Regions from separate parts of the Homo sapiens genome. Here region 2 is linked to region 1. The links are contacts of gene promoters, found by promoter capture Hi-C in blood cells and fetal thymus (Javierre and others, 2016). All regions are on one chromosome and are shown on one strand. Each heading gives the region's core, a stretch centred on a gene start or on the middle of the fragment in contact. The rest is flanking DNA. Distances are from core to core; before and after follow the strand shown.

Region 1 (3,794 bases), core at 349-2,848:
AGGAACATACTCTATATCTTTATATCTTTAAAGCATATAGCAGAGTGCATCGCGGAATGAAAATGCCTATTAAGTCAGGAATGCAGGAACGACAGGGCTTACCATTTAATATCAATTCTAAAGCTGATTATTTATTTTTGAGACAGGGTCTTGCTCTGTCACCGAGGCTGGAGTGCAGTGGTATAAACACAGTTCACTGCAGCCCTGACTTCCTGTAAAGCTGATTTTTTAGGCCATTTACTTGCTTTATAAAGTAACTAGAATGGCATGAACTATGCTTTTTTGTGCCTGTGATTATAAACTGAAAATTTACAAACAATATGTCACATGTTATTTGAGCTAAATGTCTGATTTTACTAAAATGAAAGTATCCTTCCTGGATTATTAGAATTAGCAGTAAATTTAAGTTTGCACCTAGAAGAGAAAAGCGATTGTAAAGAATGTAAAACATCTGAAGCAAACAAAGTCCAATAAGATCTTCCTTCTACTTGAATTTCTATGACCACAAAGGCACAGGATGTAAGGTCCATAGCTTTGTACACAGGGATTGGTGGGGACGACACGATTTCAACTCTGAACCCCAATGACCAGCTCCAGGAACACATGCCTTTTAGCCCCGCAAAGCTACTGACCAAATCACCCAGAGAGATAATCACATCTCAGCCAAAGGACCTGAACTCAGACGATCAGAACACAGGACCTGCCATCAGGCAGCTGCACGAGACAAGAGACCGTGCTCAAAATCACGTAATACCCTAAGTCATCCCAAGGGAGCCCCACAACTACCCTCAGCGGCAGGCAGAGCTGACGCATATTTTGCAGATGACAACATACAGGTTCCGATGGGGCGGGTCCCAAGGCCACAGAGCTGGGAAGGTGACTGAACCTAGACTTAACTAGTATCCCAAGTGGTGGATACTTCCCATTCTGCCTTGGAGATCGCCCTTCGCCCGCGTATTACATTCGGAGGCTGGCAAAACGGCAGGAAGAGAGCAAAGCTGGGCAAGGACGGGAAAGAAAGAGGGGAAGGAATTTCCACTGCTTCCCGGCACTCGCCCCCACTCCACACCCCAGGTTGCTACTCCGCGGCGGCCTCTACTTCCCCAAACTAGACTGAAGGGCGGGCGGAGAACCGAGGAGGCTTTCTAGGCGTCACGGAGAGTTCTCCAAGTTGGGGGCAGAAAAGGCGAATGAACAAATTGTACCCCCTAGGGAGAGGGCACAAGGAGAAGTGCGGAGGTGAGAAGGACCGGAGGGGAGGACGACCCCTCACAAACTGGCCAGGGACTTAATAATGGTGATGAAGGGTCGTGAGAGAGGTTTGGGAAATGCGAGAATAGCTCAGTCCCCAAAATCCTCCCTGGCCGCATCGCTGGATCCCCGCCCCATCCCCCCACCCCCGACCCGGGCAGCCCGGGAGAAAAAGCAACAACCTCCTGGGGCACCAGGAATTGGTGGCAGCAGGATCCCGAGCCCAGGCCCCCTTCCGCGCCCCCACCCTCACCCTTGCCCTGACCGCCTCGCAGTGGCGGCAGCAGCGGCAACAACACCAACCTGCGCGACCACGGGCTCTGTCCGGGACGGAAGCCGGAGCCTGCGGGCGGCGGAGCGGCGGGCGGAGTTAGTTGGAGGCTCCGGCTCCCTGGGCGGGGACAGGCTGAGCACGCGGAGGCAGCGGCGGTGGCGGGGGCTCCCTCTCCTCGGCGTGCGCCGGGCCCAGCCGGGTCCGCCGCTCGCCCTCGACTCCTGGGGCAGGTCTCAGTCCCTCCCCGGGGGCGGCTCCCGGGCCAGCCCCGCGCTCGCCTCCTCCACGCCGGCGGCCTCTGCTCCGCCCTGCCTCTTTGGGCGCAGGGGGCGCGGAGCTTGGGAAGTGGAGCCCTGGCGAGTCCCCAGCGATTGCGCGCAGCTTCCCGGGGTTTCCCTGCGGGGGTCGCGTGTGCTGGGTGTCTGAACTCACGCGCGGGCCAGAGGTAGCCAAGAGCTGGAACTCTTGCCCAAGTGCCCCGGGGAAGGGAGTGAAGGCCCGGCCTGAAAGTCTCTGACCCTCCCGAGTCTCGTGTCCCTAGAAGCAGCCTTGCGAGGTGGCCACGCCAGCTGCCCTGAGAGAAGCAGAGGAAAATGTCCGACTCTCCCTCCGCCCAGCTTCGCGCCAGAAGAACGTTTCCCGAGAGAAGGAAGGACCCATTGACCCCCAGCCCTTGCTCCAGCCTGGAGACCTGGCTGAGTGCATGGAACTGGAAGGATGGCAGAGTACCGGGGCTGAAAGCCTGGGAAATGTGCTATTTCTATTCACACCACCCCCTTGCCCGGCCCCTGGATTCAGGCCACCTCGCTCAGGTCTGCGCAGTGCTTCCCAGTTCACACCTCCGACCCGAGGAGGGAGGTCGGTATCCCTTTCTTAGCCTGGCTTCCCGCCTCCATCTGCATCCCTTTCTGCTAAACCTTTTTAACCCGCAGAGTGCCCAGCGCGCACACACCGATCACTTCGCCCCTAAACTGCGGGCAGGGAACTCTGGAGCCACCCACATCCCCAGCCTCACCCCAAAGCAAGAGAAAGCAGGGAGCCGCGCGTGGGGTGGTGGGGGCGGGGCTGGAGAGTTCCAGTAGGAAGGTTTTATACCCAAGAGGCTTGATGATGTGCAGTACTGACCCCACACACAAATTGATATGCGTTTAATTGAAGGCAGGTATTTGCCACTGTCTCTCCCTGTCTGCAGGTAACCGCTTGAGTGCGTTCACCTCGCCTCTTCCATCCCCAGCGCCAGCCCAGCCCCCTCTCTTTCTCCCAGAGTCCCATCCTCCTCTCCCTCACCTCTCCCATCCCAGCTCCCTGCAGCGCGGGTCCCGAGCTGCTCCAGATCCCCAGCACCCAGCTCTGGTCTTTCCAGACAACTCCTCCCCTTCAGAATCTGGTGTGGTAGCAGGGAGGTTGTGAGAAGGGACACTGAGGAAGATAAAGAAGGAGAAGCCAGTGGACTGGGAAGAAGGTAGGAAAGTGCGAACCGAAGGGGTACACCGGAGAGGAGCTATGGGAAATGAGGCAAAGCCTTCAGGCTATAGGGGGATTCCCAGAAAGAAAATCATTTTCTCCATAGGGAAACTACCGATGCTCGCTGTAGACCAGTTGGAAAATCTGTTGTACACCCTCCCAACAGAATTCCTAGTGAGCAGTGGCCAGACTGGTCAGGGCCTAGAGCATGTGTCCAGGAACTCCATCCACTTCCCAACCCAAATTCCAAGGCAGGCGGATGACCCTCATTTTGGAAACTTGATTCTGAGAAGGTGCGAGAAGACACCGAGCTGAGTCTGTTTACGGATCCCGGGCTGTTCTTCATCTTTAGGCATCTCCTAAGTCACTTTATCTCTTCCTCCTGGTCTGGGTTGTTAAGGAAAGCAAGCACTTGAGACCCTCCCTCAAATACGTCTCTCCTCTGTGTGTGTGTGTGTGTGTGTGTCACAGAGAGAAAGTTTGTGGTGTGAGAGAGAGAAGAAAATGTGGAGGGGCAGGAGTTCTAGGCTATGGTGTTTTGTTTCTCTTTGTTTTCTTTCTTCAATTCAGTACATTTTTGTGCCAAGATGATTTTCTTGTTCAGTGGTGACTATATTTTTGCCTTAAATGTGGGAGAGTAGTTGGGACAACACTTCTAAATGTAACCTGACGGTAACCTCTCACACCCTCAAGGTCCTGGTGTGTCTGGAATTGGTGAGTTCTTGGTCTCACTGACTTCAAGAATGAAGCCGCGGACCCTCTCTGTGAGTGTTACAGTTCTTAAAGGCAGCATGTCTGGAGTTTG
Region 2 (3,600 bases), core at 852-3,351, 520 kb before region 1:
AAATTTTACTGCAACTTTATGCATCATCTGAGCTTCAAACAAACGGTACTTTTGCAAAAGAAGAAAAAAATTAAAGTTATATAGTGCTGCAATGTTTAAGGGCAAGAACAGTAAGATAATATCATCAGGTATATTCTGGCCAAGTGTGCCCCATTTAGTGTGGAATATTAAATTGAATAAAAAATGAAAAAGTTAAAAAATAGAAACCATGTCAAAAGGGATTGTTTTTCAACTAAAAGAGATCCAGCCTACCCTTTTTTTAAAAAAATTGGTTCTTACCTACCATAGGCTACAATTCCATGGGGTGCAGAGAAAGTAAGACTGAACTAATAAAGGGGTTCTGCAAACACATTGTGAAAATTACTGGCCTAGAGTTTTGAAACTTTCTTTCTAGAAAACCAAATTTAAAATTATATATCTTTACTAATCAAAAAAGAGTAAGTATGCCATATCTTATACTATTAACCCCCCTATTTTTGCCACAGAGTTTCACCTGTCTTTCAGGAAAAAACAAAACAAAACAAAAAAAGCTACAAATTTTTATTTAGCTATTATTAAGGAACGTAGGCACACGGACAGAACAGGTCTCATAGGTAACCAGTTGTGTTTCCTAATAGGGTGAATACATATCATTGCCATGAATACATCTTTTATCATAAAATGCCAATGAGCATCAAAAGTAAATGGTTTGATTGTTGTTGTCACTGTTTTGTTTAAGAAAAATAGGGCCTTAAAATAAGTGCTTCAGTGGAATTCTTGAACAGTAAGTAGCCTGTTGATAGTGGACCTAGTTTAAAGCACCACACAACAATGTGTGTTTACATCACCCCTTTATTTCATAGTTAGAAATAATACAGTTCCACAGGGTAAATTGTCAATAAATAATGGTGTTTAATCATTAAACATAAAAATCCCACTCTTTGGCATCTGACAGGATTCTATTTCTTGTCAAACTAATGACTGTATAGATATAGCTAATCTTAGTGATCATTCGTCAATACAATATGTTACAAAGGTGCAATTTACTTTAAAATATACAACAGCGAAACATTTCCAGCCCAACGAGAAATCTGATCAACTTAGTAAGATATGGGCCAACTTCCCCAAGGCTCTTTCACGTAGTTTGCCTTAATGAAAGTGTAATAAACGTTGATTAAGAGTTCCTAGGGTTTTCTAATACTTACTTTGCTCTAAATAGAGTTTGCCATTCATTCTGGCTAAAGAAAAATCACAATTGCACCAGGAATGACCCACTCATTAATTAAAAGGTGTTCTTATTTTATAAGCAAGATTGCTAATACCTAAGAAACTCACAGACCCCAAAATAAAAAGCAGTTCTGTGCTGCCAGAAATCCCAATTCAGTAATAAATTGCACCTTTAAGAGTCAAAAATGAGGGAAAAAAGAAATGGAACGTTTACAAAAGGTAAGTTACATACATTTTTTTTTCAAAATATATTCAAGAATAGTTGAGCTGTATTTGTTACTAAACCCAGGGCATTATTTCTTTAGCAACAAATTAAACCAGTGCAATTGACATAAATTGTTAAGTAATCCAGGATTAACCCATTAAAACAGTAGAAGCACGTTAGGCTCCTACACTAATCCTAGAAACTGGAATTTCAGTGAGTGCTTGTGTTACACAGAACTAAAACTGCAATGACCTGATGCCATGCTGAATGGTATCACTTCATACTTAGTTTAATCATTCAATAGTACAAATCATGAGTTCCTCTATTAAACTATTATTCACTTACAGAAAATTCAGATGCAAACAGTATTATGCCTATAATCCACAATTAAAAGAATCCTTTCCCATTTAAAGTTCCAGGTGAATTTTAAGTTAGAAAATAAGCACTAAGGAGAGTTTTTTCAACTTATGAAAACGTCATATTGGAAACTTTCTGGAAAAGTTTCCCCCGCCCACCCATTGTAAAATAAATACTTTGTATCCCAAATTTAATTTTATTAAGACACACTTTAATAACGCTATAAAGAAATATTTTACAGCCATAGAGATCAATAACTTTCCATGCGGAAATAAAAAATTCATTGCTCAATAACATTATTGAGGCAAGTGAAGAAAGATTACTCTCTTGTCAATCTGAAATGTTAATTTTTTCAGTGCAAAACCAGTTATAAAATATTTAAACTCAATATTTAAAAATAAAAAGTGGTCCAATTCAGCAATGTTCAAGTTCTAAATTTCATAAAACAAATCATTACATACATTTTATAGTAAAATACAGAGATTCAAGAAGTACTTGAGTACTGAAGATATAAATTTCTAATGAATCATATCAAGTCAGCAACAACCAAGCAGGTAACATTCCCAATTTGAGTGTCAGAATCATAAAGATGAAATTACTGTACCAAAGCCTTTTTTTCCTAGCTAAAAAGCTATACAAACTAACAGTCAACATTCTGTTTTCTTTGCAGTTGCGTGCTCTAGAATGATATCCCCCCCCCAAGTACCTGTGATTTCATTCCTGTATTCAAATTTGACCCAAACAATTTTTATGTTCCAGGAACACTTAGCTGATATAACCATCTATAGTGTGAAGAGTCATGTACAGAGTACAGCAGTGGGTTTTTTCTAGCCAAGCGTAGGCTGACCTAAATTGGTTTAAGCTCTCTCCAAGTCATTCATGTATTATTCCTAGCAAACACACGGTCCCCTCGGAGGGTTAGGTGTTGAAGCTGGTACTGTAGCACTTCTGTATCAGCTGGCTCCTTGATCATTTTATCTAGATTGAGGTAGTCCAGAGATTTGGAGTGAGCCCTCTTACCTTTAAGAAGACAAAGAGGCAGAGGCCCATGGAGGGCCTTGTAAGGTTCATAAGGTAAAGATTTAGTGCACTTGTCTCCTGAGCTTGGCATCCGCCTTCGCCTCCTGCCATTGACAGCTGGAATCTCGTATGGCTGGTAGTACCTACTTCTGGTTTTATACAAACGAGAGGAACGGGCAAGTCCTGCATCTAGCTGTTTGGAGCGTAAGGATGGCATGGCTTCTGCTTTGCTCTCTTCACCTCCTGTGCACTTCTGAGCTAACTTCAGGAGTTCCTCGCCAGTCGTGAAGCCAACCAAATAGTTAGAGTCCATGTGTAGGATCTGGTAGCCTGACACGGTCCTCCGCATCGGGGAGCAGGGTGTGCTGGAGCAGCGGGGCTTCTCTGCCTCCGCCTTTCCCGGGGAGTTGGCCTCAGCCCCAGGGAAGGGCAAGGTGGTCAGGGTACTTCTAGACTCTCCATTAATATCGACTTCCATTTTAAGCACCAGTCTGCACAATCCTAAAAGTAAACAGACTTAGATTAGAAGAATATAATGCACAGAGACTTGGGCCAGGCCAGGTCCTTTTAGAAGGCTCAGGGAGCATGAAGTAACACTTGCCTGAAAGACAGTCAATGTACCACTGACATGTAACTATGTCTACTAAACGTTTCAGAGCGGGCATGAAATGACAATACCTCTCTGCCTTTAAGAACTGAAAGGCAAGTTAAATTAAAGTCTGATGTACTACCAAAAAGTTCAGATGGAGAAGCAAACAGAAAACAACAACAACAATACTTCTCTAAATTCCGCACTCTATTCAATCACATAA

Evidence for each region. The method cuts DNA at HindIII sites, captures the fragments that hold promoters and counts their contacts. A CHiCAGO score of 5 or more calls a contact.
Region 2: a contact is called between a fragment that was not itself captured here and the fragment with the promoter of PAM in region 1, in 1 of 17 cell types (total CD4 T cells). The highest score is 6.2, in total CD4 T cells.

The regions. Positions count from the first base shown.
Region 1 is chr5:102,753,109-102,756,902 of GRCh38, reverse strand. PAM (peptidylglycine alpha-amidating monooxygenase) reads right to left here and starts at 1,598. Exons shown (of 26, transcript NM_001177306.2): 1 at 1,555-1,598. RefSeq lists enhancers at 875-964, 536-1,036, 2,044-2,569 and a silencer at 1,355-1,904. The HindIII fragment of the contact is 4,564 bases long and covers 1-3,794 here.
Region 2 is chr5:103,275,586-103,279,185 of GRCh38, reverse strand. MACIR (macrophage immunometabolism regulator) reads right to left here. Exons shown (of 3, transcript NM_033211.4): 3 at 526-3,289. The coding sequence starts at 3,266. The coding sequence ends at 2,646. Among named protein-coding and RNA genes, the nearest start is that of MACIR, 19 kb to the right of the region's middle. The HindIII fragment of the contact is 4,833 bases long and covers 1-3,600 here.